Linked DNA regions of Homo sapiens: all the other regions are linked to region 2. Evidence: promoter capture Hi-C in 16 types of primary human blood cells and fetal thymus (Javierre and others, 2016). All regions are on one chromosome and are shown on one strand. Each heading gives the region's core, a stretch centred on a gene start or on the middle of the fragment in contact. The rest is flanking DNA. Distances are from core to core; before and after follow the strand shown.

Region 1 (4,733 bases), core at 946-3,445, 930 kb before region 2:
GTTGCATCATCATTTCTTACATCAGAGTTATAATATGAATGGTAGAGATTTCATAGTCTTTTGGTGTAAAATTGCTTTAAGTTCATTTAAAGGCCTTTATCAACAAAATTTCTAAGCTTATAATGCTTTTTTATTTTTCCACTTTCAAGTTCTAGAACTTAAAGATATTCCTTATCCTCCATGGTGGTTTCTGAAAAATAATTTATGTGTTGAGCACTGAGTAAAAAATTTGGGGTCATGCGATGACTGATTTTGCATGGGTCATTGACTCCAGGTGACTTCCTTTTCTGAGCTATCGAAGATCATTCCTAATTGTGGCAGCCTAGATTTTTGCTGTTACCCATTTCATGTCTATTTCTGTGGCCACATTTCACTTCTAACAAACAAAAGAAACACCGTTATGTTAGGAAAGTTGTTTGGCTATGTTTTTATTATTTTTTTCCTGAGACTTTTTATTAGCCAATAATCCAGAATTTATTGTATCCATTTTCATTGGAATCGTAGTGACAAGCATCAATATGAGAATTGTAACTCAGAAATTCACCTAACGTTTATTTGACTATCTCCTTGTTCCAAATAGCTGTAGGTGCTGGGAATTCAGTAATGAACAAATCATAGAAAAATCCCAGTTGAAAAAAGATAGTGTGAGTGGTTATTGCTGATGTTTTGCTTTCATCCTGAGAAATGTTCCTTAATTCTAAACCTATGGACTTGGATATGAAAGGAAAAGTATTCTGTTTTTTATAGCTTCCATCAGCTCCACAGAATAAAATATCTAGTACCCTTTTATGATTTAAAGATGTAGGGAAGAAAAAAATTCACAATAAAATAGTATAATTTCACAATAATAAATATCATCACCTTGACTATATCTGTATAATTAAAATATTTCTAAGCCATTGCCATTACCTTTTATTTCAGGCTGAATTAAAGATAACTCATTTTCTAAATTGCATAACAAAGTAGTCTCTGTAGGACCCTTGGAGCTAGTGTTGTGCAAACTGTATCAGTGAAATTTCTGTACCATTTACTAGGATATTTGTTTTACGGAATAGTCTTGGTTTACATAAACTCTTTTCCCAGCGTTCATGGAAGCAAGAGAGTTGAACTGGGATACAGATTTTCTTATGATAGATTATATTAAAAATGATTAAACAAAAATATGTTTTATATAGATAATACTAAGTGGATTGACAGCATATTGCTGCTGAGATTTTTCTTGGAAGTCTGTCTTTTACAAAACTGTTTGTCTTTTTCAAACATTGATGCCTTATCTGTTCTGAGAACTCATATGTGATATTTTTGGCATACTTGTCCATTTAGGTTGTATGCAGCTTTCAGTTTTCCTAAAACTCTATCATAGGTGTTCATTTCAGTTTCTCTAAGATCCATGCAAGACTCATGTTCACTTGGGGCATATGACATGCTTCCTCTCTAAGGCTAGCCCTACCATGTCACATCTTAGGTCTTGGAGGGAGGGATGAAAATTCTTTTAGATCTTCCTCACTTTAGCATCCATTTACTCTTTTCCACACACTATGTTTTATTTTCCCAGAGACCATGAAGTGATCAAATACCAGCTCCCTAAGGAACTCTTTTCAGTTTAATTAGAAAAGAACAGTATTTAGTTCCTTTTTTTTTCTTCTGGAAGTCATTTCTAGCTCCTGTACCCATCTTCTTCCTCTGTTCCAGTAAGTTATCTTTTGTCCTGTATTGCCAATCAGTCTTCCAGCCCTATCTTACCACGTCACATACCTGGATTAAAGTCATTGCAGTAGTAATAAAATTTGACAAATCTGGTTTGCAGACGCATGGCAACTGGGGATAAGGTATGGTGGCATGACTTAGGAATTATTGATTTTTTTTCCTGGTCTGCGTGATTAAATGGTGATCCTTTTCTCAGTTGGGCACTTACCATAGAAGGGTAACTATTGTTTTAGGGACTGTCAATAATAGTATACATGAAGAAAATCAAAAGCCTTGACTCCTGATTGCAACTATGACTGAGTAACTGGTACAAGACTAACCCTTCCGCCATTAACAAATCCCCTGCCACAGAAAGGAAACAAAATTATATGAAACAACTGCTTTCAGATATCGGACAACAGGTCATGAAGGGTTTCACTGTCTGAGCGAAAAAAAAAATAAACTAGATAACTGTTATTATTGTCGAGTTTTCTGGTTAGAGGCACTTATTGGGCAAAGGTGCAGAGAGGTGAAACCCAGACAGAGCATAGCAGCCTTGCTGAGATGATGAGACAGATATTAGAGTTTGGAGAGGCACAAACAGCTGAAATTTATGGGTAGAAGACCAAAGAGGAGAGAACCAAGCAGGGAAAGAACTCCAGAAATCTGCATAGGTTCCTTTTGAGTATTTGCTTACTAATCTGCACAAATATAGGGTGAGACTCCACAAGACCAAAGAACAATGACCAGGGAAAGAGCAACTACTGGGAAGCTATAAGCTGAACAAGTATCAGAATTTCACAGGGCTGAACAAGTAGGGTGGAAAGACCCTGTGGAACACTCAGGCAATTCATTAGAGATCCCCAAAAGGCCATACCCCTTTTTGGTTTTAGTCCTAAGAAGAAGGGCTAAAACTAGCCTTATAGTAAAATCTCTTCTAGACCCTTCTTAACAAAGTTGAAAAGGAAGTTTCAAAATAGACAATGCAATTCAACATATCCAATATATATATAGATATCAAAAGTTACTAGACATGCAAAAAAACCCATGAAAATGTGATCCCTAACCAGGTTTAAAAAATCCATTAATAGAAACAGTTCTACAAACAGGCAAAATTAATGGACTTGGACTTTTAAAGAGCTATTATAATATGTATAAAAATTAAGGCTGGGTGCGGTGGCTCACGCTTGTAATTCCAGCACTTTGGGAGTTCGAGGTTGGCGGATCTTGAAGTCAAGAGATTGAGACCATCCTGGCCAACATGGTGAAACCCCATCTCTACTAAAAATACAAAAATTTAGCTGGGTGTGGTGGCGTGCGCCTGTAGTCCCAGCTACTCAGGAGGCTGAGGCAGGAGAATCGCTTGAACCTAGGAGGAGGAGGGTGCAGTGAGCCGAGATCACGCCACTGCACTCCAGCCTGGCAACAGAGCAAGAATCTGTCTTAAAAAAAAAAAAAAAAAGTAGGAATGGAGATGGAAGAAAGGAAAAATAACTTAGGCATTGTTTTTTTCTCTCGGTTTCTGCCTTGGAATAAATTCTGGTGCAAGTACAAGGAAGGAAGACAGTAGAGGTAAATTTCTTCTCCCCGTCTTCCTCTGATGGGTCTAGTCTCTGTGTCTTACACCTTCTCTCTGGAGCTCTAGTAGGCTTGCCGAGGTTTACCATGCTGTGGCGACTTGAAAGAAATGAATCAGAAAATGCATAAGGGATGCTTTAGAACAATGAATACCTGCTGACAACCCTGGGATACTGTGGAGTCCAAGAGGTATGGAAAAAAGCAGTGAATGTTTCTCTGTGTCCACAAGAAAGAAAGGGCACAGAATATAGGTGAGAAAGGGGAACTCAACAGACTTGGAGGAGACCTATTCGTTTCCTCAGCCAGGATGAGGAAACCCCTAGGGAAGACGTGGGAAGATCAGAAGAAAATGCTGCCACATCTCAGTAGATTATCAAAACAGTGGGGAGACATGATCTCCAAAGATACCAGCTCCTAAGAACGAGACCAGTTAAAATTCAAAGTACACAACCTCTATCAGGATGGCATGGTGGCATTTAGTTAAGGCTCCCATCCCAGCAACAACTAGGGAAGAGAAAGAGGGCAAAAAGAAGGCAATCTTAAATAGTGCTAAGTGCACTATTTATTTTGGTACATCTCAGTTTGTTTCATTTTGGTACATCTCAGTTTGTTTCTTGTTAAACAGGCTGAAATAAAATGATATCCTGCTCCCCAATTGCTTTTCTAAACATGTAGCTTTAGATTCATTAGTGAATAAGTTTAGAAATGTACTTATTTCTGTAGAGAAGTATGAAACCAGCCAACGAATTCGTGTGAAGCTAATGCACTTTGTGTAGGAAAGCAATTTACAAAGTAATATGTAGCTATCTTATTGAAAGGAAAGGTAAAAAAAGCATCATAGACAGCTAAAAAGAAATGATCTTCTGTATCATTTTAAAGATGTGATGATTAAATACTTGCATACTTCACTTTGTCTTATCTGCACATACACAGCTGCAATAAAAATCTCCATCTACCCTATCAGTGTGATCTGAGAGAACGGAATACTATGTCTACTTGGTTAAAGCTTTTCTTCTCTAAACATCAGGACGATTTAAGGAAAATACACATCTAAGCTCAGTTCTAATAGTTCCTTGCCACTCACTTGGAAAAATTCACTGTGGGTTGCAAGTTCATGTAGTAGTATACCTGGTTAAAATACAGCAGCTCTACCATTGTTACCTCATCATACTATAATTTCTTTGGGACGTGAACTTAAATTTATACAAGATTTTATTATAAAATGCTATCTAATTTAGGGATACTTAAATTTTTTTGGTTTTTTTGTTGTTGTTGGTTTTTGTTTTTGTTTTTTTTTTTTTTGACAGAGTCTTGCTCTGTTGCCCAGGCTTGAGTGCAGTGGCACGATCTTGGCTCACTGCAACCTCCACCTCCCGAGTTCAAGCGATTCTCCTGCCTCACCCTCCTGAGTAGCTGGGACTACAGGCCTGCGCCACCACACCTGGCTAACTTCTGAATATCAAGCTGAA
Region 2 (4,711 bases), core at 904-3,403:
AAGTCATTTGACCCACTTTCCATGTTGTGCTATCCTAAAAAACTTAGGCCACTTTCTTCTTCCTGGAGGTAACAATCTGTCAATTGCTTAAGTTAGGACCATCATCCCTCTCCACCTTTAGAAGCTATTAGTGGGAACTGCCCAACACTGGCCATACAATCTGAAAATGGCATTTTCAAATAATTTATGGATAACATCCTAAAAAAGGACTGCCGATTGTCACACTCCACTCTGTGGATCTTTTCGAAAGAAAAAAAAAGTAAACAATCAAAAATTAAGTTAGGTTTCATCCCTCAAATGATATGGAGTTACCATAAATAAAAAAACTAAATGTCACAGAGAGGATACTAACTCTGATACTCCAGTGTGTGTCGAGCAAAAGTGCTTTGAAGCCAGCCAAAATCAACCCACAGATAATAAAGGAAACTTTGGAAATGTTGCCGCTCATTTGGACTTTTCTTTTCCCCTCTGACAATAGTCCACATGCTATGAATAAAATACATTAGACCATTGCGAGACCTGCCTCGGTCCATCCAATCCATGCGCCTCCCAATGCATTGAGATCTGCCGGGTGACATATGAGATCTAAAGTGGGTGGATAAAAATAACCTGGTCCTCAAAAAGACATGATAAACGCCAGACAGCTGAGTCACTTTGAAGCCCATTTTGACTTTTGAAAGGGACATTCACCCTCCTGCTGCTTCTCACACATTCACATAGAACCAGGTGAAAACCACCACCAACCGCCCCGGGTGGAAGGCGGCGATCCCTCTCAGCTTCCTCCTCATTCTCCGAGGTCACGACTCGGGATTGAACTTTTAATAATTTATACTTGCGCATGTCAGTCCAAGTGACTCATTTAGAAGGGCAAGGTGGGGAAGGCTTAAGAAAACCATCGCAATCCAGTAGATCCCCTATTTCTGCTGCCCGAGTGGAGGCACCGGAAGGTTTCGTCTGACATTTTTTTTTTTTTTTTTTTGAGACGGAGTCTCGCTCTGTCGCCCAGGCTGGAGGGCAGTGGCGCGATCTCGGCCCACTACAGCCTCCTCCTTCCCGGTTCAAGCGATTCTCAAGCCTCAGCCTCCCGAGTAGCTGGGACTACAGGCTCCCGCCACCGCGCCCGGCTAATTTTGGGGTTCTTTTTTAGTAGAGATGGGGTTTCGCCATATTAGCCAGGCTGGTCTCGAACTCCTGACCTCAAACGATCCGCCCGCCTCCGCCTCTTAAAAAGTGCTAGGATTTCAGACGTGAGCCACCGCGCCTGGCCCTGACATTCTAAAGACAAGAAAAGGAGTGGGGTGAAATGGGAACTGGTGGAAGAAAAGCTCAGAGAGCAAATCAGAATTGTCCAGAAGTGGGGATCCCTGAGCAAAGCAAGTGGTCCCAGAAAAAGAAGGGCTGTGTGTGTCCCGGGGTGTGGGGGGATCATCCCGTCCACCTACCCGCCCTGCGCTCTGCCCCGCGGAGGACGCAAACGATCTGCAACGTGCAGTTCGGAACAGGGAACTCTTGTATTTCATCTATCTTTAAACGGCGGCGGGGCTGTGTGCAAGCTGCTGGGAATCGGGCCCTTCCAGCCTGGGGAGGCTGGCGGAGCAAAACCACCAGCACGAGCCAGTCCTCGGCTGCAGCAGCCCTGGGGCGCTCACTAAGTGTCTGCCGAACTGCAGTGTTCCTGAGCCAACTCTGCCGCCCGGAGGAAGAGAAGAGGTCCCGGCCGCCACTGCGCATCTTCTCCCCCGGCTTCACGTGCCGCAGGCCGCCGGCCCCGCGACCCTCCCCCGAGGCGCCTCACTTACGGGAGAGTCGTAGGAGAAGGCGCACTCGTTCTTGTAGACCCTGTCGCCGGACCTGGGCACGCGGATCGTGGGCATGTGGGGCACTAGCAGCTCGCCGATGTCTCCTGCAGCCATCTTCCTGCCTCCGCTGCCGCCCGGCATGCCGAACAGGGCGCCCCGGCGCTGCATGGCCTCGGCGCGCACCGGAGCCGAGCGAGCCGAGCCGGAGCCGGAGCGCGGGGTCTGCCGGCGGCGGCGGCGCCAGCGAGCGGGCTGACGGGCGGGCTGCGCGGGCAACGGCAGCCGGCCGAGCCGGGGCGGGCGGGGAGAGCGGGCTGCGGGGCGGGAGCGGGCACCGCGGGCTTGGGGCGGACTGGCGACGCTATTTTTAATCCAATGGCGAGTCTCCGGCCCAGCTGCAGCGTCAGGCGGGGCTGGGGAGCGCCAGCCGCAGCGTGCCGGGGAGGGGGCGCTGGAGAGGGGCCCTGCGCGTGGGCCGGGCGCGGCGGCGGGGGGCGGAGGGCGAACCCCTGAGGCGTTGGCGCGGGAGCTCGAGCGGGCTGGCGGCCGAACGCGGCGCGGGAGGGCCCCGGGAAAACACCACGGAGGTGTTTTCTATCCCGAATTGTTGGCTTGCAGAGGGGCAACTCCGAGGAGGCCAACACAAAGAGCAGGATTGGGGGTTTTAAAAACCGCTTGCTTTTAAAACAGCCGAAGACTAGGGCGGTGACGTCCCCGGATTGGATAGGGGCGGGACTCGATGTGCAAATCTGAAATCTAACGTGAGGCTTAAATCTAAATTTGCGCCATGCACTTCAGTGCTTCCCCACTAAGCTTCGTTCCTTACTTTAACATCCAAGGCTCAAAAATAGAGCGAATAGAATAAGATCGAGTGAGGATAGAGGGTGTGTGTGTGGGGGAGGGCGGGGTGTGTGTGGGAGTGTGTGTGTAATAATAATACAGGTTTTCTTACATATTGGGGGAAGTCAGGGATGGTCAAGATTTTTTCAGGGCGTCGGAAGGCTTTCTATTTTTCTCTGCCTTTGGAGTATCTTCTATGTGATTCAAAGTTCTCATGTCGAACATTCAGTGGCCTGATTTGAGGATTTTGTAGGCAGGCATACATATTCCTGTCTTGATCATCAGTTCCTCAAAATAAATGATGAATGGGGTTGGCCTCGGGGGTTGATCATTTGCAAGCAGAGCATGTCTCCCAGCATACTCTCATTCTCTCCAAAAAACCCACAAGACGGGTTCAATGACATTGAGGTTCTCTAACTACACCCAACATATGTATTCATGACAGAGTATCCAGTGATCCCTGCCAGTTAATGAAATGCAGAAATAGCGAGAAATAGTGAACCAAAACGCTAATTTTTGTAAGCCTCTCTCAGATCAGATAGTCCTTAAGTTCTTTTTTTTTTCTTACTTTTTTTCTCTTTTAACTCTCCCTGGTTCTCCAGACCTATCTCAAGATTTCCATACCCTCAAGCAAGCCTCGAGCGCACCACACTTTCTTATAACTCAGCACTCCCAAATGCTATCTGTTGGAAAAGGAGGAGGTGGCACTGAGCAAAAAATCAGACACTACTGTCATCTTCCTCATTGGGCAGATCCTCTCAGCGAGCTTTTGCTTTGAATTTAGTCTCATCAGCTTATTACCTTTCACGTTAATGGATGATGTTTTCTCCAATTACAGAGATAAACTTGGTTTTACAAAACTTAAAATTTAATCTTAGATTAAATACAAATTAAATCAGTGAGACACTGTTTTTCATCCTTTGGGCTGGTAAAGATATATTGAGTTAGCATGGGTTTGGGAAGTAGACCCTCATTACATTGTTGGTGGGGATAAAAACGATAAACCTCTTTGGAAGGAAATGTAATAATACCAGTCATAACTTTATATGTGCATACTGTTTTCCCCAGCATTTCCTTGTCTAGACATTTATGCAACAGATAAATTAAGGCTGTGTAAAGATATTTGTTAGAGCACTGTTTCGAGTAACAAACGTCTGGGGAAAACCTAAAGATCCTTCTGTAGAAAGTGGTTAAAATACAGTACCATTGAAAAGAATGAAGTTGCTCTACGTGTGCTGATGTGGAACAATCTCCAAATTATTACTAGATGATAAAAGCAATTTAAGCAAACTAGTGTATAAAAGCAAGGAATACATGCAAGGCTGATAATATGCAGTAGGCATTTTGGCACATCCTATATACCATGGGCCTTCATTCCAGTTGGTTGTACTTGTAGTAAATATTTTTAATGTAGCCCCTTAAAATATACATATGTGTATGCATGCCCACTTGTTTGGCTTTAGGATGTCTCTAGAGCAATACACAAGAAACTAGTCAGGCTCTGTGGAGAAGAACTGAAAGCCTGAGGTTAAGGGAGAACTTACTACCTGGTATGGTAGGGCTGTGTCCCCACCCAAATCTCATCTTGAATTCCCACGTGTTGTGGGAGAGACCCAGTAGGTGGTAATTGAATCATGGGGGCAGGTCTTTCTCGTGCTGTTCTTGTGATAGTGAATAAGTCTCACAAGAGCTGATGGTTTTACAAACGTGAGTCTCCCTGCACAAGCTCTCTCCAGTTGTCTGCCTCCATCTGAGACGTGCCTTTCACCTTCCACCATGATTGTGAAGCCTCCCCAGCCACATGGAACTGTAAGTCCAATAAAACTTTCTTTTGTAAATTGCCCGGTCTCAGGTATGTCTTTGTCAGCAGCGTGAAAACAGATTACTACACTACCACTTTGTAGCTTTCTGTATGATTCCATTTGTATTATGTGCAAGTATTGCTTTTTCCCCCCCTTTCTTTTTGGAGATGGAGTCTCCCTCTGTCGCCCAGGCTGGACTGCAATGGCGCGCTCTCAGCTCACTGCAACCTCCGCCTCCTGGGTTGAAGCGATTCTCCCGCCTCAGCCTTC
Region 3 (4,459 bases), core at 1,675-4,174, 580 kb after region 2:
GGAGGGGGCTCGGCGGCGGCCGGCGGAGAAAGTTGCTCCGAGAAGAGGCTGGGTCGAGCTGGGCCGAGCCGGGCGCGCAGGGCGGGCGTCGCGGGCGTCCCGGGCGGACGCGGCGCGGAGACTGCCGGCGCGTCCCGGGGGTTCCGGTAAGTGCGGGCGATTGGGAGCCGCGGAGCTTTCAGGACGAGCCCCTGGAGCGCCGGGGACTAGCGGTTCCTTTCCGATGCTCTTTCCATCTGCCCTCCACGTGACAGGGCTTGCGCTGCTTCTATTTATCAGTTTGCTTGTTTCAGGCATTTCACGTGGACCAGGTGGATCATCTGTGCGTGCAGCTGCCTTGGCCCTCTCAGTTGCCCCCGCCCCGTGGGAGTCGGGGGATTCCATCCTTCGTGATGGCATCCATACCGGGTTGAGGTGCGTGTGTGGGTTCGTGTGTATGCATGCACATCTTAGGAATGTAAGGTGGATGTGGGCGACGCTGAACTGTCTGTAGCTTTGATTCAAATCTGTAAACAGTTCTCTAGGATTAGGAACCGTCACAGCGGAGACTGAAAAACATTCGCCAATTCACCAAGGCCTCTTCCCCAGTTTTCTGCGTTCTTTTGAGCCTTCTTTATAGGATACACCTTGCCTCAAGTGATTATTATTATTATTTTTTTTAACTTTTCTCCCTCTCATTCCTTCTTGCTGCGTTCTGATGACCTCTGAGTAATGCTCGCTGCCTTTCCCTCATTTCCAGAATTCCCAATTACAGACTTACCTAGTTTGCTGAGGTGCTCCTAACCTGTTCCTTTATTCTATTCTCTTTCCTCTGTAGATTTCTCCAAATGAGACAAGAGATTGTCTTTAACACAGTATGTGAAGAGTAGGCCCCAGTCCAATCATTAAAACTAAGTATGCTATGACAATTAATTTTCTTTAAACAGGGTACCTTGTGAAGCTTTGATTTTCTTTAATGTCGTCTTAGCTCCTTTCCAAACCAGGACATTAACCAGCATAAATCCTTCATTTATGCCATCGCAAGCATCAAAGTGACTGGTTTTTAAGATTTGAAGAATATTTATGCCAGTCTTCAAATTAGTCCCTTTTAAACCAATGCAACAGTTGAACAGATCTGAGTTGCATGTTTTGGGTCTCTGTATTCCATCATTCATGCATTCACTGAAGACTTGGTTTTATTCATTTTAAGATTTATATTTTATACTAATTTTTGTTTGCAAATGTACTAATATTTGATGCAATTGTCATACATAGATTTTTTTGAGGAGTCGACATTGTGTTGATTGTTAAATATAACAAGAAATAAATTTGGGATATCAAGCTACTCTTTAAAAATTGTAAAGATCAAATGTGATAATGGGTAAATCTGTGTTTGGCAAGAATTTTTTCTTTAAATCAGGTAACTGTCACCTCTGGTAGGAGGCCTTTTGTGCCTCTGTTCTTTGAGAAGGATCTTTATTTTGAGGGAAACCTGTAGATAACACTGGGGGAGACACATGCTAGAATTTCCTCAAGTGAAAGTGAGCTTTCATAAAACAAGTCCAGACATGCCTAGGCAATTGGTAGCATTTGATTTTCTGTTTATATTGCTGATTTCCTTTATCCAGAGGTTTTGACACCCCCCCCCACCTTTTCACTAATGAACTAGCAGAATGTTTGTGGCAATTTGACATCAGTAGCTTTTCAACATTATGAATTATTATTATTAGGTAGTTAAACTTTTTAAAAGCTGTTCTTTGTCTACTTAGTTCCGTTTTCTAAAATGACCATATCTGTCTTTGCTTTCTGGACTATCTTTGCTTGATTCAATTAAGAGAAATAATACCATTACAGAGAACCTGACTTTTTAAATGTTAAAACTCTATATTGCTTTTCTTTTATGTTCCCAGAGATATGGGCAGTACACTTCTGCTTAAAAATTAAATAATATTATCATTTTTCTAAATTTTGTGATTAATGAGAAGTATTGTTAAATTCTATGACTAATACTTATGCACTTTGTCCTTAACTACATTATTTTCCCATCACGCTGATTTCCTTTGTTGCCTCCCCACCCCAAATTTCGTCTGAAAGTTGTTACTTGATTTTCAGGTGCTGTGTAGTTATCAAATATGGTAAAATAGACTTTAACTTTTCAAAATTTACTTGATTCATTTTAGTAATTCTATTATTGCCATAATGTACACATTTCCATTGCAGATGGAAAATTTCAGCAGCTTAAAATAGCCATATTCTATTGACCAAGAGAAGAGGTTTTAATAATACTGTATTGAGAGAGTGGAGGGAATTGTGGATTTTGAAATAAGGATTCTAATTTGGGTTAATTAGAATCTTGGGAACTCAAAGGGTGTACTGTGGTTCATTTTGAGACACTCAGGGTTAGACGGCGCCATCTGGGGGGGAGGCAGGAGACATTATGGATAAAGATTGAAGAGGGAGAGGAACATTTTGGGTCTTTTCTGAGGGAATTATAATAGAGACTATCAGTTATTTGTTAAGAAGGAGGAGGGAAATAGCCTCAAGATTGAGGAACTGGAATTATACTGTGGCTTATGGTGGTGTGATCCATTACTCCATTGGACATTTCCTTGATACCTTATTTTGTGTAGGTAATTTACCTAGAGAAGGAGGAAAAATTTGGGTTTTACAGGGGCTGATGAATATAATCTAAGGCTGTATGAGGCAGGGCTGTAAACTCAAGAGCTCACAGAGAACAGGCAAGTAACAAGTACAGGCAGCAGCTGAGTGGGGACTGAGGTGTCCCAGAGAAGGCAGGCCTCGCTAGAGGGCACAGTGCCTCTGAGCACTAACTAGCTAATTGCGTCCCATATAGGAATGTGGGCCAAGTGATGCCAGATCATCCTTTTTCAAGAGAAGCCATGAATCTCTTGATTTTTAAATGCTAACAACTAATTCGACTTAAAAAAATGAAAACAAAACTGTATATTCCAAACAGCACATCTGTGGCTGTATGTGGCCCACAGGCTGTTTGCCACCTCTGCTATACATTTGCTCAACTACTTAAATATTGCTAGTTGATCAGAAGGAACATATTTTATTTATTTCTGTCATACTTTAGGCTACTCCTAGAGTTCCCTGAAATTTTAGCTAGTTCTATAAGTGCTTTAAGAATTCTGCAAGATGATATTCTTTTATACACTCTTTTTGATATTGGTTGGTTGGAAGATATGTTTGCTAAGATTTTTAGCTGGTGGTCTTTTTTTTTTTTGAGTCACAGTCTTGCTCTGTCACCCAGGCTGGAGTGCAATGGCACGATCTCGGCTCACGACCACCTCTGCCTCCCCGGTTCAAGCGATTCTCCTGCCTCAGCCTCCTGAGTAGCTGGGATTACAGGCACTCGCCACCACACCTGGCTAATTTTTGTATTTTTAGTAGAGACGGGGTTTCACCATGTTGTCTTGAACAGGCTGGTCTCGAACTCCTGACCTCAGGTGATCTGCCCACCTTGGCCTCCCAAAATGCTGGGATTACAGGCGTGAGCCACCACACCTGGACAGCTCGTGGTGTTTTTGTCTGTGCATGATTATCATTAAGAGTGTTTAAGTGTAAGTGTGCCTGAGGGAAGGGGTCTGGACTAGGTGACATTTGATGTCCATTTCAGCCATGTGACTTTTAGATTTAGCCGTGGATGCAATGCTGTTAATGTTCACGGGCCAAAGGGATAGCAGTTGGAACTGTGCCAAGCAAAATAAAGCCAAATCTATAAAGCCATTCTCAGTGGAAGAGCACCGTGTTAACATGAATTAACAGGCAGGGGAAGTCTGCTAAATGAGGCCAAAGGAAAGAAGTCCCAAAGATGGGTTTGGAGAAGTAGAAGAAAGGGTCAGATTATGTTGTCATTTACATGTTATCTTGCTGAAGTCTGATTTTCAAGTGAGTTTTTTTTTCTGTTTTTTTGCTGTTGATTCAGATTTGAAGACCTTGCTTCTCATCACCCACTGGATTATGCCCCAGGCTTCCCTACCCAATGATCCTCTTGCAACACGCCGTGCTTCCTCCACCTAAGCAGCCCTCACCCTCGCCTCCTATGTCAGTGGCCACCAGGTCTACAGGAACCTTGCAGCTTCCACCACAGAAGCCTTTTGGGCAGGAGGCTTCCTTGCCTCTTGCAGGGGAAGAAGAGTTATCGAAGGGAGGGGAGCAAGACTGTGCCCTGGAGGAGCTATGTAAGCCCCTGTACTGCAAACTCTGCAATGTCACCTTGAACTCTGCACAGCAAGCCCAGGCTCATTATCAGGTAAAGGGAGAAAAGAAAACCAGGCATTGAGTAGGGTGAACATTTCAGGGCTCTGGCTATTTAGCAGTTGTCTCTCCAGATATGACTGTGCCTGGAATACCAAGATGGCTTAGAGAACAACTAACTATGAATTTGTTTGATTAAAAGCCTTATGTTTTTACTTTAAAAATAAGTATCACTTTTTGTAGACTGGATCTCAAC
Region 4 (4,957 bases), core at 2,255-4,754, 620 kb after region 2:
AGAAGGAAAGCTCTCAGCAGAGAGGGGGCCCAAGAGTGATTAGCCCTGTGTGTGAGAGGGGACCCAAAAGAGGTTTGCCATCTGTGGGGTTGAGTCTGGGATTTTTATGGGCTCAGAATGGGGGAGTGCGTGCTGATTGGTTCACGGGTCGGCTTGGAAAAAGCACCATTTGATTGCCTAAAAGGCATCGAGGAAGTTCTCACTCTCGTTGTGGACTCCACCTGCAACTGGCAGCTCAGTTTTCAGTCTTTAAACTGTCTTTGGCATGAGGTTGGGTTTCACAGGGACCCATCCCTGTCTGCCTAGGAATTTGTCTGTCTCCAGTTGCTGTCACTAAGCCACACATTGCACTGTCTCTTGGATTCATTAAGATGTCTTTCGGTTGTCTCAATCTCATATTGAGATTGAGATTGTTGACTCTATCTTCTTCCCCAAAGCCTTTTTTCCTCCCCACACCTTTAAAAATTTTTCATAAATATTTCCATCTACCCTGCGGTTCACCTCCCTTCTACCCTCTTATCCAATATGCTATTACTTGTTCTTACCTTCTTCATAGTTCCTGCGTCTTTCTCCTTTATCTAGCCATTATCTTGCTTGAGGCCCATTTTGCAAGCTGTTATCTGTCTCCACTCTGTCTAGGTGATAGTTTTTGGCTCCATAGCTTTAAATACCATCCACATTCAGATCATTCCTGAGAGTCTGTCTTCATCCTGACCACACTCTTGAACTCCAGTTTGGTTGTGGGCTTCTATGATAACATACTATCTGATTTTTATCTTACTTTTTGGCTAGACCTTGTCAATCTCATTTTCTGGATCTTCATTCTCTACTAGACTCTATGTTGTAGTGTCTAGGATTTTGTCCTTGACTCTCCTCTGTGTATCTTCCCAGCTTCCAGCTTTGGTCTGCTACCCTGATGCTCATCTTTATCAAATACAATCAAGTCATGCACTGCTTTGCTTAAAGTTCCTCAGAGGCTCCCTGCTGCCTCTGAAGTCCAAGTTCTTTATCATGGGCAAAGGCATTAAGAATGAGCCCCCTGTGTATTTCAATTTTTGCCTCTCCTCCAAAGGATCTAGAAGACCGTTATCTCTCCTTGTAGCCCCTCAACACAGAAGGCTGGGCTTTTGCTCATGCTATTTTCTTGGTGCACAGTTTTCTTTTTCCGTATTGCTTACCTCCCCTGTAAACATTTGCTCATTTAAAAAGATGAGTCAGTTGCCCCCTTTTCAGGGAAGTCTTCCGTGATACATTCAGGCAGGAGTAAGAAATTCCTTCTCTGTGTTCTCCTAGCAGTTTATTATCTTCATTATAATACTTGGTTCATTTATCCAACAGTTATTTATTGCTTGCTTGCTATATTCTGGAAACTATTCTAGGCATTGGGATTAGAACAGTAAACAAGACAGATGAGGTCCTCATTTTCAAGAAGTCTACATTACAGAGCGGAGGAAAGAGAAAAAAAAACAAGTCAACAAACTATATTATTTTAGATAGTGATTAGTGATACTAAGATAAAATAAAACCGGCCAGTGTGGTAATATGATGGAGTGTGTGTGGTGTGGAGAGGGGGAGTGGTTGTGACACTTGAGAGTGAGTGAGGTCCAGTTTGAGTTGAGACTTGAAAGATTAGAAGGAGCAATCCATACAGAGATCTGCAAGAGGTACATTCTAGGCAAAAGGAACAGTTAAGTACAAAGGCCTTGGAGCTAGCCTGAGCTTGGCATGTTTAAGGAGCACATGCAGCCTAGTGAGCCAGGAGCATAATGAGCAGGGGAAAGGAAGGAGTGCTGTCTGACATAAGGCCCAAGAGATAGACGGGGCCAGATCATGTAGGGCCTTATAGGTAAGATTTGTCAATTAGATGGGGCCAGAACATGTAGGGCCTTATAGGTGAGATTTGTCAGTTAGACAGGGCCAGATCGTGTAGGGCCTTATAGGTAAGATTTGTCAATTTTAAGTATAGCAGAAAGCCATTGGAAGAGTTTTATGTGAGGGAGTGACATGGAACTGATTCATGTCAAGAATTATTACTTGGGTTTATAATGAGGAGAATTCTAGGAGGACAAGATTAACAGCAGAGACCAATTAGGAGTTGTTACCTACTGCAAATGACCACTGTTACCTACTGCAAATGAAAAATGTTGGTACCTTGGATTACTGTGGTATTTGTAGTATCCATGGAGAGAAGTGGAGTGATGTGGGATGTATTTTGAATGACAAGACTTGCTGATGGGTTGAATGTGTTGGGCTTAGGGAAGGATGGAATCAGGAAAAGGACCCCTTGGCTTTTCTTGGGTAATTTTGTGGATGGTGGTGCCATTTACCTACTGTGGATGACTAGTGGTGGTGGTGATGGTGGTGATGAGAAAGTTCTATGGAGGAGGAATCAAAAGTTGTTTTAAGTTGGATATGCCTCTTAAGACGTGAAAGTATGGATGACCAGGAGGAAGCTGGATATGTGGTTCTGAAGGTCAAAGATGGAGATTGATGATTTGGGGAGTCACCAACTTACTCATGGTATTTGAAAGCTATAGGTCTGGGTAGAATAACCTAGAGTCAGAGAATAAAAGAGGGCTAAGGGTGCGTCCTTGGACATTGTAGAGTTTAGAGGTCTGATAGAGGAGGAGAGGTGGGGAGGGAAGAAGGAGTATAGATGATAGTAGGAGGAATGTTTCAAGAAGGAAATGAACTGTGTCATGCTACTTTGAGTTCCAGTAAGATGAAGGCACATATGTGACCACTGGATTTGACTCTGGAGTTCACTGTGACCATGGTAAAAGCACCTTTAGGGTATTGAAGTGAGGAGAAGATGGATCTTAGTTCATTACTCTATTTAGCTGCTTAGGTATCTGTCTCCTCCTCTATGTGCTAGTCCTTAGTTTATTTCTAGGGCTTAGCATATAAATAGATGGTGAATAAATGTTTGCCTGCAGGTTTGAGTTTTACAATGCAGTTTAAAGAATAATATACTGTTTTACCCTTATTTAGAATGCTTTTGTACTATTGACCCTTGCCACTAGTTTGTGTCAGTTCAAGGAATATAATCATGTGACTAATAAAACGTGATGAGAAAGGCAAGTTGATGTTAGTAGAGGTTCCTAGTGCATCTTGAAGCCATCATGCTGTAGTGGAAAAGGGCCATTCTTTGATTTGGAAGGCCTGTCTCAGGCTTTGGCTGTGCTATTTAGCCCTTGAGAAGGGAGCTGGGGGCAAGCTCCTTACAGTCTCTGGATTGCAGTTCCTTGGCTGTCATAAATGGACAATATTAACAAATTCCTCTTACAAGATTTTTGTGAGCAGCAAATGAATAAATGCAATGAACATCCTTTGTAAGTAAAAAGATACTCTGTAAGGGCAATTTTAAAAGAATAATTGGATTATCCATTTCATTACTAACTTATAAAGTACATTAGATCAGAGTGTCATGAAATTCATATTTATCTGTGGCATATAAATGGCAAGAAGTTGGGTGAGGACATAAGTCACTGGAAAATGTGATACTTCTTTTTTTTTTTTCCTAAAATCCCATATTCTTTTCTTTTCTTTTCTTTCTTTCCTTTTTTTTAAAATTTTTTTAGTATTTATTGATCATTCTTGGGTGTTTCTCGGAGAGGGGGATTTGGCAGGGTCATAGGACAATAGTGGAGGGAAGGTCAGCAGATAAACACGTGAACAGAGGTCTCTGGTTTTCCTAGGCAGAGGGCCCTGCCGCCTTCCGCCTTCCGCAGTGTTTGTGTCTCTGGGTACTTGAGATTAGGGAGTGGTGATGACTCTTAACGAGTATGCTGCCTTCAAGCATCTGTTTAACAAAGCACATCTTGCACCGCCCTTAATCCATTTAACCCTTAGTGGACACAGCACATGTTTCAGAGAGCACGGGGTTGGGGGTAAGGTTATAGATTAACAGCAGCCCAAGGCAGAAGAATTTTTCTTAGTACAGAACAAAATGGAGTCTCCTATGTCTACTTCTTTCTACACAGACACAGTAACAATCTGATCTCTCTTTCCTTTCCCCACACTTCCCCCTTTTCTATTCGACAAAACCGCCATCGTCATCGTGGCCCGTTCTCAATGAGCTGTTGGGTACACCTCCCAGATGGGGTGGCGGCCGGGCAGAGAGGCTCCTCAATTCCCAGACGGGGCGGCCGGGCAGAGACGCCCCCCCACCTCCCAGACGGTGTAGCGGCCGGGCGGGGGCTGCCCCCCACCTCCTGGATGGGGTGGCTGCCGGGCGGAGACGCTCCTCACTTCCCAGATGGGGTGGCTGCTGGGTGGAGGGGCTCCTCACTTCCCAGACGGGGCGGCTGCGGGGCAGAGGGGCTCCTCACTTCTCAGACAGGGTGGCTGGTCAGAGACGCTCCTCACCTCCCAGATGGGGTGGTGGTGGGGCAGACACACTCCTCAGTTCCCAGACGGGGTCGCGGCCGGGCAGAGGTGCTCTTCACATCTCAGACGGGGCGGCGGGGCAGAGGTGCTCCCCACATCCCAGACGATGGGTGGCCGGGCAGAGACGCACCTCACTTCCCAGACGGGATGATGGCCGGGAAGAGGCGCTCCTCACTTCCCAGACTGGGCGGCCGGGCAGAGGGGCTCCTCACATCCCAGACGATGGGCGGCCAGGCAGAGACGCTCCTCACTTCCTAGACGGGGTGGCGGCCGGGCAGAGGCTGCACTGTTGGCACTTTGGGAGACCAAGGCAGGCGGCTGGGAGGTGGAGGTTGTAGCAAGCCGAGATCACGCCACTGCAGTCCAGCCTGGGCAACATTGAGCACTGAGTGAGCGAGACTCTGTCTGCAATCCCGGCACCTCGGGAGGCCGAGGCTGGCAGATCACTCGCGGTCAGGAGCTGGAGACCAGCCCGGCCAACACGGCGAAACCCCGTCTCCACCAGAAAATACGAAAACCAGTCAGGCGTGGCGGCGCACACCTGCAATCGCAGGCACTCGGCAGGCTG
Region 5 (4,943 bases), core at 2,444-4,943, 970 kb before region 2:
CACTCCCATGCACTACCAACAGGCCAGAGGACCAGCATGTCCAACCCATTGCAGCTACCAGCAACACCAGTATGGACCTTCTGGGTTCCAGTGAGTTGCTTTACCACCGCTACTGCCATTACCTGCATCACACCAGCTGCCCAGGGGCCTGAAAACCCGCCTGCATGTCGGGCCCACCATTCCCACTACCAACATCTGAGCAAGCTACCCAGAGGCCCAAGAATCAGCCTTCCAGGATCCACTAACACCAGTGACAGTATAAGCTACTCTCTGGCCTGAGAATAGATACACTCAGCCCACCACTGCCACCAATGGGGCCCAAAGACAGGCTTACCTGGCATCCTAGACCCCAGCAAAACTTCACCAAAGCTCAACTAATAACCATACCTTAAGTCACTGAGGAAATCACAGATACCACTGAACCTGTGTACTGCCTAAGAAATCATACAAAGACCACACTACCACAGGCACCCCACATCAAAACACCAACTACATATGTACTTCTTCAGGAGAAAATCCTCTCCTAGGAAAGCAATTTCAAAAAATTAGCAGAAGCAACTGTTACATGAGATATGCATCTATCAATGGAAGGACACAGGAACCATGAAAAAGCAAGGAAATGTGACCCACCATATAACAACTGTTCAGCAATAGATCCCACTCAAAAAGAAATCCTTGAAATGCCAGATGAAAAATTCAAAATATTGATAGAAGCTCAATTAGATGCAAGAGAAATCTGAAAACCAATATAAAGAAATCAGAAATCAATTCAGGGTATGAGCAAAAAATTCACCAAGGAGATATCTTAAAAAAAAAAAAAAAGAAAAATAGACTACACAAGCAAAAGAAAGAGTCAATAACAGACTAGACAAGCAACAGAGAGAATCTCAGACCTTGAAGACAGGTCTTTTAAAATAATCCAGTCAGACAAATTAAAAAAAAAAGAATAAAAAAGAGTGAACAAGGCCTTCAAGATGTTTGGAACTAGTAAAGTGACTGAACTTACAAATTATCAGTTATGCCTGAGGGGTAAGAGAGAGAAATAAGTTTAGAAAGCCCATTTAAGGAAATAATTGATGAAAACATCTCAAGTCTAGTAAGAGAGTTAGACGCCGAGACACAAGAGGCCCAGCAATCCCCAGGAAAATACATTTCAAAACAATACCTCATCATGGTGTATTGTAATCAGAATGTCTAAAGTCAAAGTGAAACTGCAAGAGAAAAGTTAAAATTAGCAAGAGAAAAGCATCTAGTCACCTATAAAGGAAACCCCATCAGAATAACAGCAGACTTCTCAGCAGAAATCTTATAGGACAGAAAAGAATGGGACAGAATTTTCAAAGCACTAAAAGGAAAACAAAAACAAAAACAGAACAAAATAAAACCAAAAAACACCTGTCAGCCCCCAATTTTATATCCAGCAAGAATAAGCTTCATAAAGGAAGAAGAAATACCCAGCAAAGCAAACACTAAGGGAATTCTTCACCACTAGACTGGTCCTCTAAGAAATGCTCAAAGGAGTTTTAAAATGGAAACAAAATGTCAGTATTCACCATCGTGAAAACACACAAAAGTACAGGACTCAAAGGTCTTATAAAACAAACACACAAAAGAGGAAGAGAAAGGCATCACTGGCAACATAACAGAATTCTACCAAAACACAGACGACCACACAGAGAAAAAAAAGAAATAATTTATAAACCAACTAGGTAACAGTTGAAAATATGACAGGAACAAAATCATACATATCAATATAAGTTTGAATGTAAATGGATCAAACGACCCAATTAAAACATATAGATGGTGGAATGGATAAAAAATGTGATCCAACAATATGCTGCTTATATGAAACTCACCTTATTGGAAAAGACATATATACTGAAAGTAAAGGGGTGGAAAAAGACATTCCATGGAAACCAAAAGCAAGTAGGAGTAGCTTTACTTATATTAGATAAAAGAGATATTAAATCAAAACAGTAAAAGAAGACAAAGAAGGTTATTATATAATGATAAAGGGATTACTTCTGCAAGAGGATATAACAATCCTAATTATATATGCACAACACTGCAGCACCTAGATTCATAAAACAAGCATTACCAGATTGAAATAAAGAAAGAGCAAGACAATAATGGTGGGTCAACACCCCACTGACAGCACTAGGCAGATTATCAAGACAGAAAATCAACAAAGAAACACTGGACTTAAATCGGGCTTTAGACCAAATGGACGTTAACAGACATCTACAGAACATTCTACCCAACGACTGCATAATATACCTTCTTTTCATAAGCACATGGAACATCTCCAAGACAAGCCAGAAAACAAGTCTCAAAAAAAATAAAAAAAAAAATCTTCTCAGACCACAGTGGAGTGAAAAACCGGCAATCAATGCTCAGAAAACTTTGGGCACTTTACAGATATATGGAAATTAAACAATATGCTCCTAAATGATCACTGGGTTAACAAAGAAATCAGGATGGAAATTTAAAAAAATTTTTGAAATGAATGAAAATGGATACACAACATACCAAAACCTGTGGGATAGAGCAAAAGGAATGCTAAGGGGGATGTTTATAGCATTAAATGCCTATATCAAAAATGTAGAAAGATCATCAATTAACAACCTAACACTGCACCTCAAGGAATTAGCAAAACAAGAAAAAAAACAAAACCAAACCAAAGTTAGCAGAACAAAAGCAATAACAGATCAGAAGCAAAACTAAATGAAATAGAGACAAAAAAATTTACAAATGATCAAGGAAATTAAAACTTTGTTCCTCAAATGACAAACAAAATTGATAAACTGCTAGCTAATCAAGAACAGAGATCCAAGCAAACAAAATCGGAAAACAAAAAGGAGACATTACAACTGAACTACAGAAATATGAAAGATCATCAGGGACTATACTAACTTATAAATTAGAAAACCTAGAGTAAATGGATTCCTGGAAACAGATAAATTTCTGGAAACATATAATACACCCTCCCAAGGTTGAACCAGGAAGAAACAAAAATCCCGAATAAACCGATAATATAAATAGCAAGAATGAATCCATAATAATAATAATAATAATAATAATAATAATAATAAAAATCTCCAAACAACAACAAAAAAGCCCAGGGTAAGATGTAGTAACAGCTAAATTCTACCAAGCATACAAAGAAGAACTAATACAAATCCTCCTGAAACTGTTCCAAAATATTGAGGAGGAGGGAATGCTCCCTAACTCATTCTATAAGGCCAGTATCACACTGATACCAAAACCAGACAAGGACACAACACAAAAAAGAAAACGATAAATCAATATTCCTGATGAACATAGACCACAGACACAAAAATCTCCAGCAAAATACTAGCAAATTGAGTCCAACAGCACATCAGGAAGATAATACACCATGATGAAGGGGGTTTTATGCCAGGGATGAAAGGATGGTTTAGTATATGCAACTTAATAAACATGATACATCACATAAACACAATTAAAGACAAAAATCATATAATCATCTCAATAGATGCAGATAAAGCAATGTGATAAAATTCAGCATTCCTTCATGACAAAACCCTCCATAAACCAGGCATAGAGGGAACATACCTCAAAATAATAGATGCCATCTATGACAAACCCACAGCCAACATCGTATCGAATGGGGAAAGAGCTGAAGGCATTTCCCGTAAGAATTAGAACAAGACAAGGATGCCCACTTTCACCACTCCTATTAAACATAGTACTGGAAGTCCTAACCACAGCAATCAGGCAAGAGAAATAAATGAAAGTCTTTCAAATAGGAAAAGAGGAAGTTAAATTATCTGTGTTCACATGATATGATCTTACATCTAGAAAGCCCTAAGAACTCCACCAAAAAAAATCTTAGATTGGATAAATGAATTCAGCAGTTTCGGGATACAAAATCAAGGTACAAAAATCCATAGCATTTCTAAACACTAATAATGATATAGCTGAGAACCAAATGAAGAAGGCAATTCCATTTATAACAGATACAAAAACAGTACCTAGAAATGTATTTAACCAAGGAGGTAAAAGAGCTCCATAAGGAAAACTACAAAACACTGATGAAAGAAATTATAGATGACACAAAGGTAAAAACATTACATGCTCATGGATTGGAAGAATTAATATTGGTAAAATGACCATGGTGCCCAAAGGAATCTACAGATTCAATGCAACCCCTATCAAAATACCAATTTCATTTTTCACAGAATTAGAACAATCCTAAAATTCACATGCAACACAAAAATCCAAATAACCAAAGTAATCCTAAGCAAAAAGAACAAAGCTGGAGGGATTACATCATCTGACTTCAAATTATATCACAAGGCTATAGTAACCAAAACATCAATGGTACTGGTATAAAATGAGACACAAAGATCAATGGTACAGAAAAGAGAACCCAGAAATAGACCCACATACAGCTAACTGATCTTGGACAAAACTGACAAGAACATACACTGGGGAAAGTATGCTTATTACCTGTGTGACAAAAAAATCTGTACACCAAACCTCCATGACACACAATTTACCCATGTAACAATCCTGCACATGTAGCCCTTGAACCTAAAAGTTGGAAGAAAAAAAAGTGGGCTAAGGACATGAGTAGGCATTTTTCAAAAGAAGACAAACAAATGGCCAAGAAGAATATGAAAAAATGCTCATCATCATTAATCATTAGAGAAATGTAAATTAAAGCCAACAATCAGAATGGCCATTAGAAAGACAGAAAACAAGAGATGTTGGTGTGGATATGGAGAAAAATGAATGGTTATACACTGTTGGTGGGAATGTAAATTAACACAACCTCTATGGAAAACAGAATGGTTTCTCAGGTAACTAAAAATAGAACTACCTTTTGATCCAGCAGTCCTACTACCTGGTATCTACACAAAAGAATAGAAATCATTAAATCAAAAAGATACCTCCACTCC
Region 6 (4,644 bases), core at 1,702-4,201, 640 kb after region 2:
CATTTCTGAGGCTCATTCATTGGCTGAAAATCTATTCAAGATCAAATGCTGGGTGTTATCCTTTATAATTTCTTAAAGGGCTGGTGATAAAGTTTCCCAATGTATGATAAATTGATATAAGATTATAAAGATCAGAAATAGATCTTTTTATGTGAGTTTTAAGATTTTTATCATCTGAGTTGAGGCTTAAACCACAACAATTCTTAGTTGTGGGATCTTCATAACTTGAAAATTAAGAATTACAAAAAGATGAAGACAGTTAACTATTGTGTAACGTGAATATTATTTTAAAGGGATCTGATTATGAGTTCTTACCAAAAAAAATCCCCTAAAAATACATTTCATGGTTTTTAATCTTCAAGTCTGTGTGTGTATGTGTGTATATATATTTAGGGGGAATGTATACTAGGAGGGAGTTTATGGAAACATGTTTAAGATGATCATATGCTAGTAATGAAGTGTGTCCAAAGGAACAGATGTAAATTTGCCACTGGAAGAAATACACTCCACCATAGGCAGTCTATAACTTATGCTTGGCATTTTGGATAAATCTTTAAGTATGTAATTAGAGCTTCAAATGTGTTTTGGCTGGAAGTTGTCCCTCTAGACAGGAACAAGATGCCTTTCATATTAGCTTCAATTTTTCATCTTTGCTGATGCCAGAGGCACCTCTCTAACCCTGTTTTCTAGAAATCCTTACTAGGTTATGGACTTTGACCAACGGTATCTAGTGCCACCTTGTGGACTGTCTAGATTTTACAGTTAGCAGTTTGTGGTTGGTGAACTAACTTTAAAGCAGGATGTTTGGTTGAAAACCACCTTGTGGAGGATATGAGTTTTTATCTGTAAATAAAACAAGTCATGCCTTTAAGAGATACTGAGGACTGTTTTTGCAGCTTAAGTCTGTAAAGGATGACAGAGTGGGAAAGTGTTGAATTGGAAATCAGGATCCATATATATGTATGGATAGATATATATGCACAGGCATGTGTGAATGTCTCATTTTTTGTGATTATTTAAAAACGTCTATTTTGTTTAAAAAAATCTGTTCTCTACATATTCGGTTATGTGAACAACAACAAACATGGAAATTAAAATAATGGTCAATGAAGGCCCCAACCAGGAAGTAAAGGACTAGAAAAATCTTTCATCAAAGAAGACTTGAAAATTTAAAAACACAATTATATACAAGGGCAAATGTTACCAAACATGGAAATCTTGCTGACATAAAAATTAAACTATAAAATATTAAAATTTTCCCAAACATAGTTTATTTTTGGGGAAAACAATATTTTCTGCTTTAATAAGCTAGCAATGAAGAAAGAGACTTTTTTAAAAAAGTAGTTTTATTAAATATTTCAAACATTCAGAAAAAGTACATACTGGGTAACTGGTCTCAGTTCTGTCACCAGTGTGTTCCCTGGCTTGTCACTTGACCTCTTGAAATTCAGATCCCCATAACTGGGGTATTAGGGGTGGATCTAGTTATTTCTTCTTTATTCCTCTCTTTCAGTACTATGGATAATTTAGAAGATTGCTGTTTTCAAAAAGAATTGTTTTTTTTTTTCGAAATACATAAGTCCTGAACTCACTCCTGAACTCCATGCTGCCATGTCCCCCCTGCCCAGCGGCAATTGATCGCGGTTAGCAGTTTCTTGAGTCTTTTCCAGATAAAGTCTATGTAACGTGAATGGAGGCATTCCATCCCTACTGTTCTGTTCATCACCTTGGGGTATGTGTGTGTGTGTGTATGTGTGTGTGTGTGTGTGTGACCTTGGCAAGCATTCCATACCAGCACATGTGGATCTATTTCATTGTTTTTCATTCTGTGGTGTTTCCTTGTATGATTTCTAAAATTTCTGTTATTGATCCTCTATTGATGGACATTTATGTAATAATAATTTAAAAAAATTAAACCCTTAAAAATAGCAAAACATATAAAATTTACCATTTTAACCATTTAGTTTACAATCATAATCACTCTCCATCTCCAGAAATTTTTTATCTTCCCAAACGGAAATTTTACTCATTAAACAATAACTCCACATTCTCTCTTCCCCAGTCCCTGGTAACCACCATTCTACTTTCTGTCTCTATGATTTTGACTACTTGAGGTACCTCATATAAGTGGAATCATATGACAATTGTCCTTTTGTGTCTGGCGTATTTCACTTGGCATAATGTCCTCAAGGTTCATCCATGTCGTAGTATGTATCAGAATTTCCTTCATTTTTAAAAATTATTTTTAATTAGGGATATATAATATTGTACGTATTTATGGGGTACATGTGTCATTTTGATACAAACATTCAATGTGTAATGATCAAATCAGGGTAATTGGGGTATCTTATCACCTCAAGCATTTATCAACTTTCCTTCCTTTTTAAGGCTGAATAATATCCCATTGCATGTATCGATGACATTTTGTTTATTCATCCACTGATGGACACTTACGTTGCTTCTACCTTTTAGCTATTGTGAATAATGCTACTGTGACCATAGGTGTACATAGCTGAAGACTTGGAAAATTATAAATTATTTTATATATGCAAAGTGTATAAAAGTTTAATTTTTTTCACTGAAGCTTTGATAATTTGAGTCTGTAAAACAAACTGACCATGGATTAACAGGAAAAAAGGCATACAGATTTATTAATGTACATATGGGCATGGGAGTCATACAAAATATGAAAAACTCAAATGTCCAGACAGCTGATGCTGTAAACCAAAAAGTATCTGAGACAGATCTCAATCAACTGAGAGTTATTTTGCCAAGGTTGATGATACACCCAGGAAAAAAAGCCACTAGCCACAATAGAATCTGTGGCCCACACTTTTTTTCCAAAGAGGATTTTGAGTGCTTCCATATTTAAAGGGGAAAACATGGGCAGGAGAGAAAAGAAGTGTAGATGAAAGAGGCAAGAAGTTGCAATCTTTTGAAGATTTCATCAGCGTTCAGTGGATCCACATTTTACATGTGAAAGGAGAGGGTAGAGGCATTTGTCTCATGCTCAGTGAATCTACGTTTTTACATAAGATAAGTAAACAGAATAGAGGAAGCAGTCAAATATGCATTTGTCTCAGGTGAGCAGAGGTATGACTTCTGGTTCTATCCTTTGTCCCGTTCTTCTGAAGATAAATTGTTTGTTATTGTCAGGGTGAAATTCAACAGAACTGTTTTAGGGTAAGGATCTTGAGGGCCCACAAAAAATTTGCTCGTGAGCAAATTGCGAGGGAGGTATGTAGGTAGTCTTTCATCTTTGTAGCTGTTGAGGAACAAAATGGGAGGCAGTTTTGTGTGACTCAGTTCTCAAGCTTGACTTTTTCCCTTAGGTATGGTGAATAGGGGGTCCCAAAATTTTATTTTCCATTCACAACTCTTTAATACTATCTTGAGGTTACAGAAAGAATAGGGGCTTGAAGCTTGTCAAGACAGGTTATGGTGGCATGAGAGGTTATGGGAAGGAGAGAAGAGGCAAGGTGTGCTGCAAAGGTGGTCTTGTTATGCAGATGATCTCACAGGTAGCAGCCCTCAGAAAGGAAAAATGGGAGGCCAGGTACGGTGGCTCATGCCTGTAATCCCAGCACTTTGGGAGACCAAGGCAAGTGGATCACCTGAGGTCAGGAGTTCGAGACCAGCCTGGACAACATGGTGAAACCCCGTCTCTACTAAAAATACAAAATTAGCTGGGTGTGGTAGCGGGTGCTTATAGTCCCAGCTACTTGGGAGGCTGAGGCAGGAGAATAGCTTGAACCCGGGAGGCGGAGGTTGCAGTGAGCTGAGAGCACACCACTGCACTCTAGCCTGGGCGACAGAGCAAGACTCCATCTCAAAAAAAAAAAAAAAAAAAAAAAAGAGATGGGAGCCTGTGGTAGATGTTTCTATAAAACCTTTAAAGGTGTCAGGCTCTCAGTTAATCTTGCCTTGTTCTGGACAAGGTGGGGCTTCAGAAAAAGCCTGTTTGCATCTGTTGTTTACTTCACTTTATTTCCTCTAGAGATGCAAATCCCCGTAAAAGACTCAGCTTTGCAGGCTGATTCTTGTGTTGCAGGCCCTCTGAATAGTCATCTCAAAATATGTCAAAGAAGTATATTTTGGAGTGAAACATTTCTTAGTTTCCTTTAGTCCCCCACTTGAAACTTTAGAACGTTTCGCTTATTAATGTTTGGGCGCAGTGGCTCATGCCTGTAATCTCAACACTTCAGGAGGCTGAGGTGGGTGGATCGCTTGAGCCCAGGAGTTTGAGATCAGCCTGGGAAATATGGCAAAAGCCCATCTCTACAGAAAAAAAAAAAATAATTAGCTAGCCATGGTGGCACGTGCCTGTAGTCCCAGCTATTCAGGAGGCTGAGGTGGGAGGATCACTTGAGCCTTGAGGGGGAGGTTGGAGGATCACTTGAGCCTTGAGGGGGAGGTTGCAGTGACCTGAGGTTGTGCCACTCTATCCTGAGTGACAGAGAGAGACCCTGTCTCAAAAAAAAAAAAAAAACACAGAAGTGTCACTTATTAAAGTAGGATTGGTAGCTATGGAGAGATTTGGGTTAGAAGTTTTGAGATAAGAGGGAGCAAAACAAATTGGGATAAGCAGAAAAGAACAAATATAAGTATGTCATGCCATATCTTCTTGAATCCGTCTCTTAGTTG

What was found. The method cuts DNA at HindIII sites, captures the fragments that hold promoters and counts their contacts. A CHiCAGO score of 5 or more calls a contact.
Region 1: a contact is called between a fragment that was not itself captured here and the fragment with the promoter of USP13 in region 2, in 1 of 17 cell types (M2 macrophages). The highest score is 5.1, in M2 macrophages.
Region 3: a fragment that was not itself captured here is called in contact with the fragment with the promoter of USP13 in region 2 in 3 of 17 cell types (naive CD8 T cells, activated CD4 T cells and monocytes); the score reaches 6.8 in naive CD8 T cells.
Region 4: a contact is called between a fragment that was not itself captured here and the fragment with the promoter of USP13 in region 2, in 2 of 17 cell types (neutrophils and activated CD4 T cells). The highest score is 8.2, in neutrophils.
Region 5: a fragment that was not itself captured here is called in contact with the fragment with the promoter of USP13 in region 2 in 4 of 17 cell types (naive CD8 T cells, M1 macrophages, total CD8 T cells and 1 more); the score reaches 5.9 in naive CD8 T cells.
Region 6: a contact is called between a fragment that was not itself captured here and the fragment with the promoter of USP13 in region 2, in 2 of 17 cell types (total B cells and total CD8 T cells). The highest score is 6.4, in total B cells.

The regions. Positions count from the first base shown.
Region 1 is chr3:180,584,516-180,589,248 of GRCh38, reverse strand. It overlaps TTC14-DT (TTC14 divergent transcript), which reads left to right. Exons shown (of 3, transcript NR_183700.1): 2 at 4,592-4,733. Among named protein-coding and RNA genes, the nearest start is that of TTC14-DT, 15 kb to the left of the region's middle. The HindIII fragment of the contact is 4,154 bases long and covers 119-4,272 here.
Region 2 is chr3:179,650,482-179,655,192 of GRCh38, reverse strand. It overlaps USP13 (ubiquitin specific peptidase 13), which reads right to left and starts at 2,153. Exons shown (of 21, transcript NM_003940.3): 1 at 1,800-2,153. The coding sequence starts at 1,967. RefSeq lists an enhancer at 1,680-2,323 and silencers at 1,992-2,331, 2,342-2,421. The HindIII fragment of the contact is 8,280 bases long and covers 1-2,614 here.
Region 3 is chr3:179,067,282-179,071,740 of GRCh38, reverse strand. It overlaps ZMAT3 (zinc finger matrin-type 3), which reads left to right. Exons shown (of 6, transcript NM_022470.4): 1 at 1-146; 2 at 3,932-4,258. The coding sequence starts at 3,989. Among named protein-coding and RNA genes, the nearest start is that of ZMAT3, 2.3 kb to the left of the region's middle. RefSeq lists a silencer at 56-205. The HindIII fragment of the contact is 3,964 bases long and covers 943-4,459 here.
Region 4 is chr3:179,032,119-179,037,075 of GRCh38, reverse strand. All of the region lies in intron 2 of ZMAT3 (zinc finger matrin-type 3), which reads left to right. Among named protein-coding and RNA genes, the nearest start is that of ZMAT3, 37 kb to the left of the region's middle. The HindIII fragment of the contact is 8,661 bases long and covers 1-4,957 here.
Region 5 is chr3:180,621,228-180,626,170 of GRCh38, reverse strand. All of the region lies in intron 14 of CCDC39 (coiled-coil domain 39 molecular ruler complex subunit), which reads left to right. Among named protein-coding and RNA genes, the nearest start is that of TTC14, 22 kb to the right of the region's middle. The HindIII fragment of the contact is 4,519 bases long and covers 1,434-4,943 here.
Region 6 is chr3:179,011,805-179,016,448 of GRCh38, reverse strand. No RefSeq gene overlaps it. Among named protein-coding and RNA genes, the nearest start is that of ZMAT3, 58 kb to the left of the region's middle. The HindIII fragment of the contact is 730 bases long and covers 2,587-3,316 here.